Regions from separate parts of the Homo sapiens genome. Here region 2 is linked to region 1. The links are contacts of gene promoters, found by promoter capture Hi-C in human tissues and cell types (Jung and others, 2019). All regions are on one chromosome and are shown on one strand. Each heading gives the region's core, a stretch centred on a gene start or on the middle of the fragment in contact. The rest is flanking DNA. Distances are from core to core; before and after follow the strand shown. Region 1 has its middle 2.8 kb from the start of IP6K2. Region 2 holds the start of FBXW12 (F-box and WD repeat domain containing 12).

What was found. Contacts are between HindIII fragments. The study calls those that stand out against the background at their distance.
Region 2: a contact is called between the fragment with the promoter of FBXW12 here and a fragment that was not itself captured in region 1, in 1 of the 25 tissues and cell types used here (lymphoblastoid cells).

What each region holds. Positions count from the first base shown.
Region 1 is chr3:48,718,098-48,721,896 of GRCh38, reverse strand. No RefSeq gene overlaps it. Among named protein-coding and RNA genes, the nearest start is that of IP6K2, 2.8 kb to the right of the region's middle. The HindIII fragment of the contact is 8,187 bases long and covers 1-3,799 here.
Region 2 is chr3:48,369,670-48,373,468 of GRCh38, reverse strand. It overlaps FBXW12 (F-box and WD repeat domain containing 12), which reads right to left and starts at 1,250. Exons shown (of 11, transcript NM_207102.2): 1 at 1,149-1,250; 2 at 612-785; 3 at 124-161. The coding sequence starts at 701. The HindIII fragment of the contact is 16,322 bases long and covers 1-3,799 here.

The DNA of each region.
Region 1 (3,799 bases), core at 769-3,268:
TCCACCTCCTGGGTTCAAGTAATTCTCGTGCCTCAGCCACCCAAGTAGCTAGGACTATAGGCATGCACCACCACGCTCGGCTAATTTTGTATTTTTGGTAGAGATGGGCTTTCACCATGTTGGCCAGGCTTGTCTTGAACTCCTGGTCTCAAGTGATCTGCCCACCTTGGCCTCTCAAAATGGTGGGATTACAGGTGTGAGCCACAGTGCCTGGCCATGTCTGTTTCATAAATTGTCTGTTTCTATGTTAGACAGTGGCCCTGTTTATTTTGCTCAATGCCTATCACCTTAAATCCTACCTTTTCTCATGTCATGTACTCCTGTTCTCTTCTAGTTTGTGCTGGCCTGATCTCTCTGCCCACTCCTTTATTTTTCAGCCTTTTCTGTTTGTGTGGTCTCAAATATCCTATAAATAGCATGTGGCTGGGTTTTGTCTCTCTAATCCAGTCTCTATGCCTTTAAAGGGAGTTCAGGATTTATTTACTGTGATAAAGATGTTTAGTTTTGCTCATTCCATAAATTCCTTTTTTTTTTTTAAAGACACAGGATCTCGCTATGTTGCCCAGGCTGGACTTCAGGTCCTGGGCTCAAGTGATCCTCCTGCCTCAGCCTCCAGAGTAGCTGGGATTAAAGGTGACAGCCATAGTGCCCAGCCCCATAATTTAGGTTTATTATTATTATTATTATTATTGTTATTATTTTGAGATGGAGTCTCGCTCTGTTGCCCAGGCTGGAGTGCAGTGGCACGATCTCAGCTCACTGCAAGCTCTGCCTCCCAGGTTCACACCATTCTCCTGCCTCAGCCTCCTGAATAGCTGGGACTACAGGCGCCCGCCACCACGCCCAGCTAATTTTTTTGTATTTTTTTAGTAGAGACCGGGTTTCACCGTGTTAGCCAGGATGGTCTCGATCTCCTGACCTCGTGATCCGACCGCCTCGGCCTCCCAAAGTGTTGGGCTCACAGGCGTGTGCAACCACACCTGGCCTAGGTTTATTATTTTTTACTTTGTAGTTTTATATTTTTATTTAGTTGACCTATATGAAACTACTGTTTTTGTAGGTTTAAACAGTTAAATATTAGCAGTTTCACAGGGTCAACCTAATATTTTCCTCTTTCTCTTTGCTGTCTTTGATTAAACTGTCATTCATTTAATGTTTCCCCTTGGTAATTTGGACATTCTACTATTTTTTCCTCATTCCATTTATGGTTATTGTTCCTCTCCAGGCATGACAACTGTCCTTTAGCTGGGTCTAGGTGGGCAGATAGTGCACCTGTGTTACGGGTAAGAGTTTGAGGCCAGCTGGCCCTTCTTCCTTGGTATGTAATTTGTTTTATCTATCTAGAAGCTTGTATAATGGTCTCTTTCTCCTTGGAGTTTAAGAATTTTACTGTAGTCTTTCTCTTTCATCCTGCTTGGGAATGTGGCCAACCCCTCCCATCTACACACAGCTTTTTCTTTTTTCTTTTCTCTTTCTTTTTTTTTTTTGAGAGGGAGTCTTGCTCTGTCACCCAGGCTGTAGTGCAGTAGCGTGATCTTGGCTCACTGCAACCTCTATCTCCTGGGTTCAAGTGATTCTCCTGTCTCAGCTTCCGGAATAGCTGGGACTACAGGTGCACTGAGACTACACCACGCTACACCTGGGACTACAGGTGTAGCTGGGACTACACCACGCCCGGCTGATTTTTGTATTTTTTAGTAGAGACAGGGTTTCATCATGGTGGCCGGGCTGGTTTCAAACTCCTAACCTCAAGTGATCTGCCTGCCTCAGCCTCCCAAAGTGCTGGGATTACAAGTGTGAGCCACTGCACCCGGCTGACACAGAGTTTTCTTCATGTCATGAAAGTTTTCTTCTGTAGTTTGACTAGCTGGTGCCTCCATTTCAGCTGTCCCTTTTTCTCCTTTTAGGACTCCTGCTGTCTGCACATCAGAATTCTTGGACTTGCCCCCCAGATCTGTGGTCTATTCCTTCATCGTTTTCAGCTCTGTGCATCTTTCCCTTAAGTTCTGAGCTATTTCTTCCATTAGACCCAAGTGGCTTTTTCATATTCCCTCAAAATATCAAACTTCTTCTTTCCTCGGGGTCTTTGTACTTGCTGTGCTTTTGTCAGAAATGGCTTCCTCTAGATCTTTCCATGCTCAGCCAGTGCCTTTGGGCTGATCTTAGCTCAGATGTTCCCTTCTCAGATCTACCTCTCCTGCTGCCTTAGACATAAACACCATACTCTGCACTTTTGCTTGGTTCCTTTTCTCCATTGTAGTCACTCTGCCTATAATTATGTTATTTGTTCTTTTACTGTCTGTTGCCTCTCACCCACCTCCGGACAAATAAATCATTTGAATTCTTGCTGTGTTTATTCACGCTGCATCCCTGGTGTCTAATCTAAGTCAGACCTTGATAAGCACTTGTGAAAGGAATGGAAGAGTGAATTAATGCTAGGGCGGCCCCAAGGTGGTAACTGCTATGAAGCGGCCGGGTACGGTGCCTAATGCCTGTTATCCCAGCACTTTGGGAGGTCAAGGAGTGTGTATCACTTGAGGCCAAGAGTTTGAGACCAGCCTGGCCTGGATAACATGGTGAAACCCCGTCTCTATTGAAGAATAGAAAAATTAGCCGGGTGTGGTGGCACACGCCTGTAATCCCAGCTACTTGGGAGGCTGAGGCATGAGAATCGCTTCAACCCTGGAAGCGGAGGTTGCAATGTCATAGCACTGCAGCCTGGGTGACAGAGCAAGATTATGTCTCAAAAAAAAAAAATTCTGAGAAGGTGGTAACTGCTATGGAAACATATAGAGCCAGGATGAGGGGATAAAGGTGGTACTGAGTGCTGGGGGCAGAGTGGGGCAGGTTACAGTCTGAAATGAGGGGCTCTGAGAGCTGGGGTGCAGCTCTTTGGAAATCTGTGCAATCCAGGCATGGGAACAACCATAACTCATACACTGTGCAGGAGAGTGCATGGGGTGTGATGTGTGAGGAACACTGGGAGATTGAGCAGCAAGGCCAAAAGCTGGCCGGGGAGATACAGTCGGGGGGGTGATAGGGAATTATGAAGGTCCTGATGTCTCTGGTTTTCCCTTGGGGAGGAAGTACTCCAGGGTTCTGAGCAGGGAATGGGAGGATCTGACTCATGTATTCACAGGCTGATGTGTGCAGAACAGACTGAAGGCATCAGGGGCAGCAAGAGGAGACCAGGAGGCAGCTGTGACATTGCACTCAAGAGAAATGGTGGCAGTTTGGACTCAGTGAAAGGTATGGAGGTGGCAAGAAGTGATTTCATTCTGGGTAGATGATGCTGATGGAGACAGCAGACCTTCCTGGTGCACTGAATATAGATGGGAAAGAGAGTAGTCAAGGGGTACTTTGAGGTGTTTGACTTGAGCAATAAGAAGGGCTGAGATGCTATCACTCAATTTGGGGAAAGTGGGGTGAAGTAGGTTTGGCGGATGAGCCAGTGTTAGGGTAGCACAAGTTGCGTTTGAGATGCCAGCAACTGGAAGTCAGAGTGCAGATGTCTAGTTGACAGTGGGACTAGTGAATCTGCCACTCAGGAAGGGTCTGGACTGGACAAACACTTTTAGGAGTGATTGACATGTAGGTGGCATTTGAAGTCATGAGCCTGGATAAGATTTTGGAAGAGTGAGTGTAGACAAAGAGAAAACACACAGATGAGAAACTGGTGAGACTGGAGGAAACCAGGAGGACATGGAGCCCTGGAAACCACATGCTAAGGTGAGAGGAGCTGCTCACAGAAGTCTCTCCTATCCACTGTTATAAGGTCAGGGATATTTATTTATTTTCC
Region 2 (3,799 bases), core at 1-2,500, 350 kb after region 1:
TACTCACACTAACTTTCCTGTGTATATCTCACAACACAGCCACACAGGCCTTGGGACACAGCATGGGTGCGCAGTCAGATGATCTCCTCTCCCCTTCCCTCCTTGCCCTTTCCCTTCCCTTACCTCCACAGGTAATCACTGTCTGCAATCCTATTCCAATGCTATGGGAGAGAAAGGAAGAGACAAGCAGGCAATCAGTTACATCAGAGAGCAAGGGTAATCCTCTGCTATTATTTGTTCTGGGAGCTGGGCCCGCACAGGTTAATCAGATGGGATTCCAGCTCTCAAAGCACTCTCAGTGTGGGGAGATAAGGAAATGGTAACAACAGAGACCTATCACTGCTAATACAGGCACTGGGTATTCCCATGAATTCACAGGAAGAAGTGTTGATTTCCTAGGGCTTGAAATGGGAGCCTCAAGGACTGTTTAGTCAGCACAACTCCTGGATATCAGCTTGTCCTTTTCGTTTAACAGAATATGAGGCCCTCAGTATGAAGAATGCTAACCCCCAAAGCCTCAGTGTAACCCTCTGCTATTCTGCAAAGTGGTGCTCAAACTGGTCGAGAGAAGCAGCGGGCTTGGGGGGCAGTGGGAGGTGGAAGGCCTTTACCTTGTTCACCTGGGAAACCTGCAGCAAGCCGAACAGGTCCAGGAAAGAGAAGATTCGCTTCAAAGCTAAGTCAGGCAATCGGATCTCCATTTCATGCGGCCTGAACCCACATCCACTTTCCTTTCTCCTCTCCGGGCTGCTCTGAATTTATAGGCTTTGCCAAAGTCTGCAGCACTTGTAAAGATTTTCACCCATGCCCATCTGTGTGCGGTAGAAACAAGCTGCAGGTGTGCAGACTCCCGGGCTGACCTCCACCCCGGCCTCTCCCCTGGGGCCTGATCCACACAGCTGGCAGGCATCCCTACCTAAACCCACTTGTTAGTGCTGTTCATTGTTTAGAGGAGCTCAGCAACACCTGTGCGCTGTGAGCTGGAGGTGCAGAACCTGGGGCAGCCCCAGTTGCAGATGAAGTTGTCAGAACCCTTTAGGAAATGTCACCGAGTGCACTCACTTTGATCAGATCTGAGTGTCTCTATGACTCTATTTAAGTTCCAAACTCCTGGAATTGGAGTCTGCTTGCCCTGTGTCTGTGCCTACCTTGGGATCTTGAATCTGGTGAGTGGGGCTCATCTCTCAGCGCCAGCATGGCCTCTGGGTTTCTACCTTCTCGCATTTAACTTTGCAGTGGAGGAGAAAGAACGTGCCAAGCTGGCTTCTCCACAGAGGTCCGCCCAAAGGGAGCAGGCCTTGTCTGGGATGGCTCTCCCAGCTGGTGGCTTTCCCTGGGATGTGACGCTTTCCCACAGTTACAGATCTCCCAAGAACCTGACAACTCATTCTGGGATTTTCTAAAGACCGTGTCATAGCCTGGGTGTTTGTGTCCTCTCAAAATTCCTACGTTGAAATTCTAACCCTTGGTGTGATTGGAGGTGGGGGGCCTTTGGGAGGTAAGTGGGTCACAGGCAGAGTCCTTATGATGGGACCAGTGACCTTATAAAAGAGACCCCAGAACGCTCTCTAGCCCTGTTCATATCATGCGAGGACATGAGAAGGTGTCAGCTGCAACCTGGAAGAAGGCCCACACCAGAACCTGACCGTGCTGACAGGTGACTCTTGGACTTCTCTCCTCCAAAATTGTGAGAAATAAATTTGTTTGTAAGCCACCCAGTCTATGGTACTTTGCTGCAGCATAAGACAGGGGTCCCTCTGTGAGGCTCAGTGGCCAACCCTTCTTAAAACTGCTGCCTCCAGGCAGACACACGGGAGTGGTTGTCGGGAGTCCCATTTATGATACAGTAGTAAGAGAGAGGAAAAATACAAATTGACATGGTGAGGAAATAAAAAGGAAAAGCAAAGACCAAGAAGCACCTAGAGGGGCGTGGGGAAAGGCGAGTCAAGGGGTGTGTGGAGAGGAGTGAGAAAAATACAAGGGTAAAAGATTTGTATTCCATAAATAGGAAATAATGCAGAGAGAGCCAGAGCCGTGGAAGGACACAGGAAGACAGAAAGCTTGGAACGGACTCTATTGTAGAGGAACAGAATTAATGCAAAGATATAGAAGGCTGAGAAATAAAACACTTTAAAATATGACAAGGGAAGAGAAGAAACAGTAAAATAAAGGATATTTTAAAAGTATTAAAGCACAAATATTATAAAATACACAGATAGGAAATATAACTGTAAGTGGACTGAGACAGAGTAGGAATAAAATGGAAAAGAGGACAGATGAGAAAGAGGCAAACATAAGGAAACTGAAGCAAATTGCCGAATGAGTGAATGAATGAATTTGAAATAGAGGAACAGAGGCCAGGCACAGTGGCTCATGCCCGTAATCCCAGCACTTGGGGAGGCCGAGGCGGGTGGATCACCAGGTCAGGAGTTTGAGACCAGCTTGGCCAACATAGTGAAACCCTGTCTCTACTAAAAATACAACAAATTAGCTGGGCGTGGTGGCGGGTGCCTGTAATCCCAGCTACTTGGGAGGCTGAGGCAGGAGAATTGCTTGAAGCTGGGAGGTGGAGGTTGCAGTGAGCTGAGATTGCGCTACTGCACTCCAGCCTGGGCGACAGTGCGAGACTCCATCTCAACAACAACAACAAAAAAAATAGAGGAACAGGAAGGTGTGTTGGGGGGTGGTGGTGGCGGGGTGCTACCAGAAAAGCGGCAGAGAAAGACACATTGCAACAATAGATGAAGACAAATCTAAATGTCACAAGAGTTAAGAGATGTAAAATTTGAGAGATGTGAAATGGTAACTGCGTAATAGTCTAAGCAAAAGATAAGATGCAGGTGAGAGAATGGTCCGGACATTGTCTAGGAGAAAGTAGATTAAAGCAGGCAGCTGGGGAAACCTGAGAAGAGGGATCCATAAGGAGTTGGGCAGCCTGAGAGTAGGACAGAGAGGGAGGGACGACACAGCATGGGAAGTAAAGGGGGCGTAGCAAGGGGAGAAGTAACAGCACACCTTTCATGGCGCCTTCTGCAGGCAAGGCACCCGTCTAAACAATTTACAGGGGCTCATCTATTTAATCCTCACAACGGCTAGATGAGGTAAGTCCTATTACTGGCCACCTTGCCAGGGTGCTCCGTGTTCTCTTAGATTCTGAATTTGTCTGGCATCCATCACAGGGCCAGTTGTATTCTCTGTATATTTTTAATTTTCTGTATTCTTGATGCTCTGGCATTTGTGATCTTGCTGACTGGGGAGAGACTCTCCTTCCCAGGCCTAGCCAGATAGCAAAGGAGAGTGCCTTTTATGCAAACGAACCAAGCTACAGCCCACACCCACAATCATCTCCTTTACCAAACTCTCACACAGCAAGTTAATATTCCTCCTGCCCTAAATCAACCCAGGGCCAGGTACCAGACAACTGGAGACGGCCCCTATGCCTCAAAGCCAGCCAGAACCATTTAAACTAGCCCATTCTAAAAGGCTTACCCTGTTCTGCCCTCTTCGTTTCTTACAGAAAACACAATAAAGGCTCAGGCCTATGCTGCCCCGCCCCTTCTGCCTCCTGACTGCCCTTGGTGCTCTCCATGTGGCCCTGCGTGGGGAGCCAGGCCTCTTGTTTATAGGGATCTGTGAGTATAAACTTCTTCCTTCATGACAATCATTGCTGTGTCTGCACGCTTTGCCACACCTGATTAAAACCAATCCCAGGCACCAGTTTTAGAACACATAGGTGGGAGCCAACACATACAGAGGTTAGGTGACTTGCCCACAGTGACACCCCTGGGAAATGGCACCG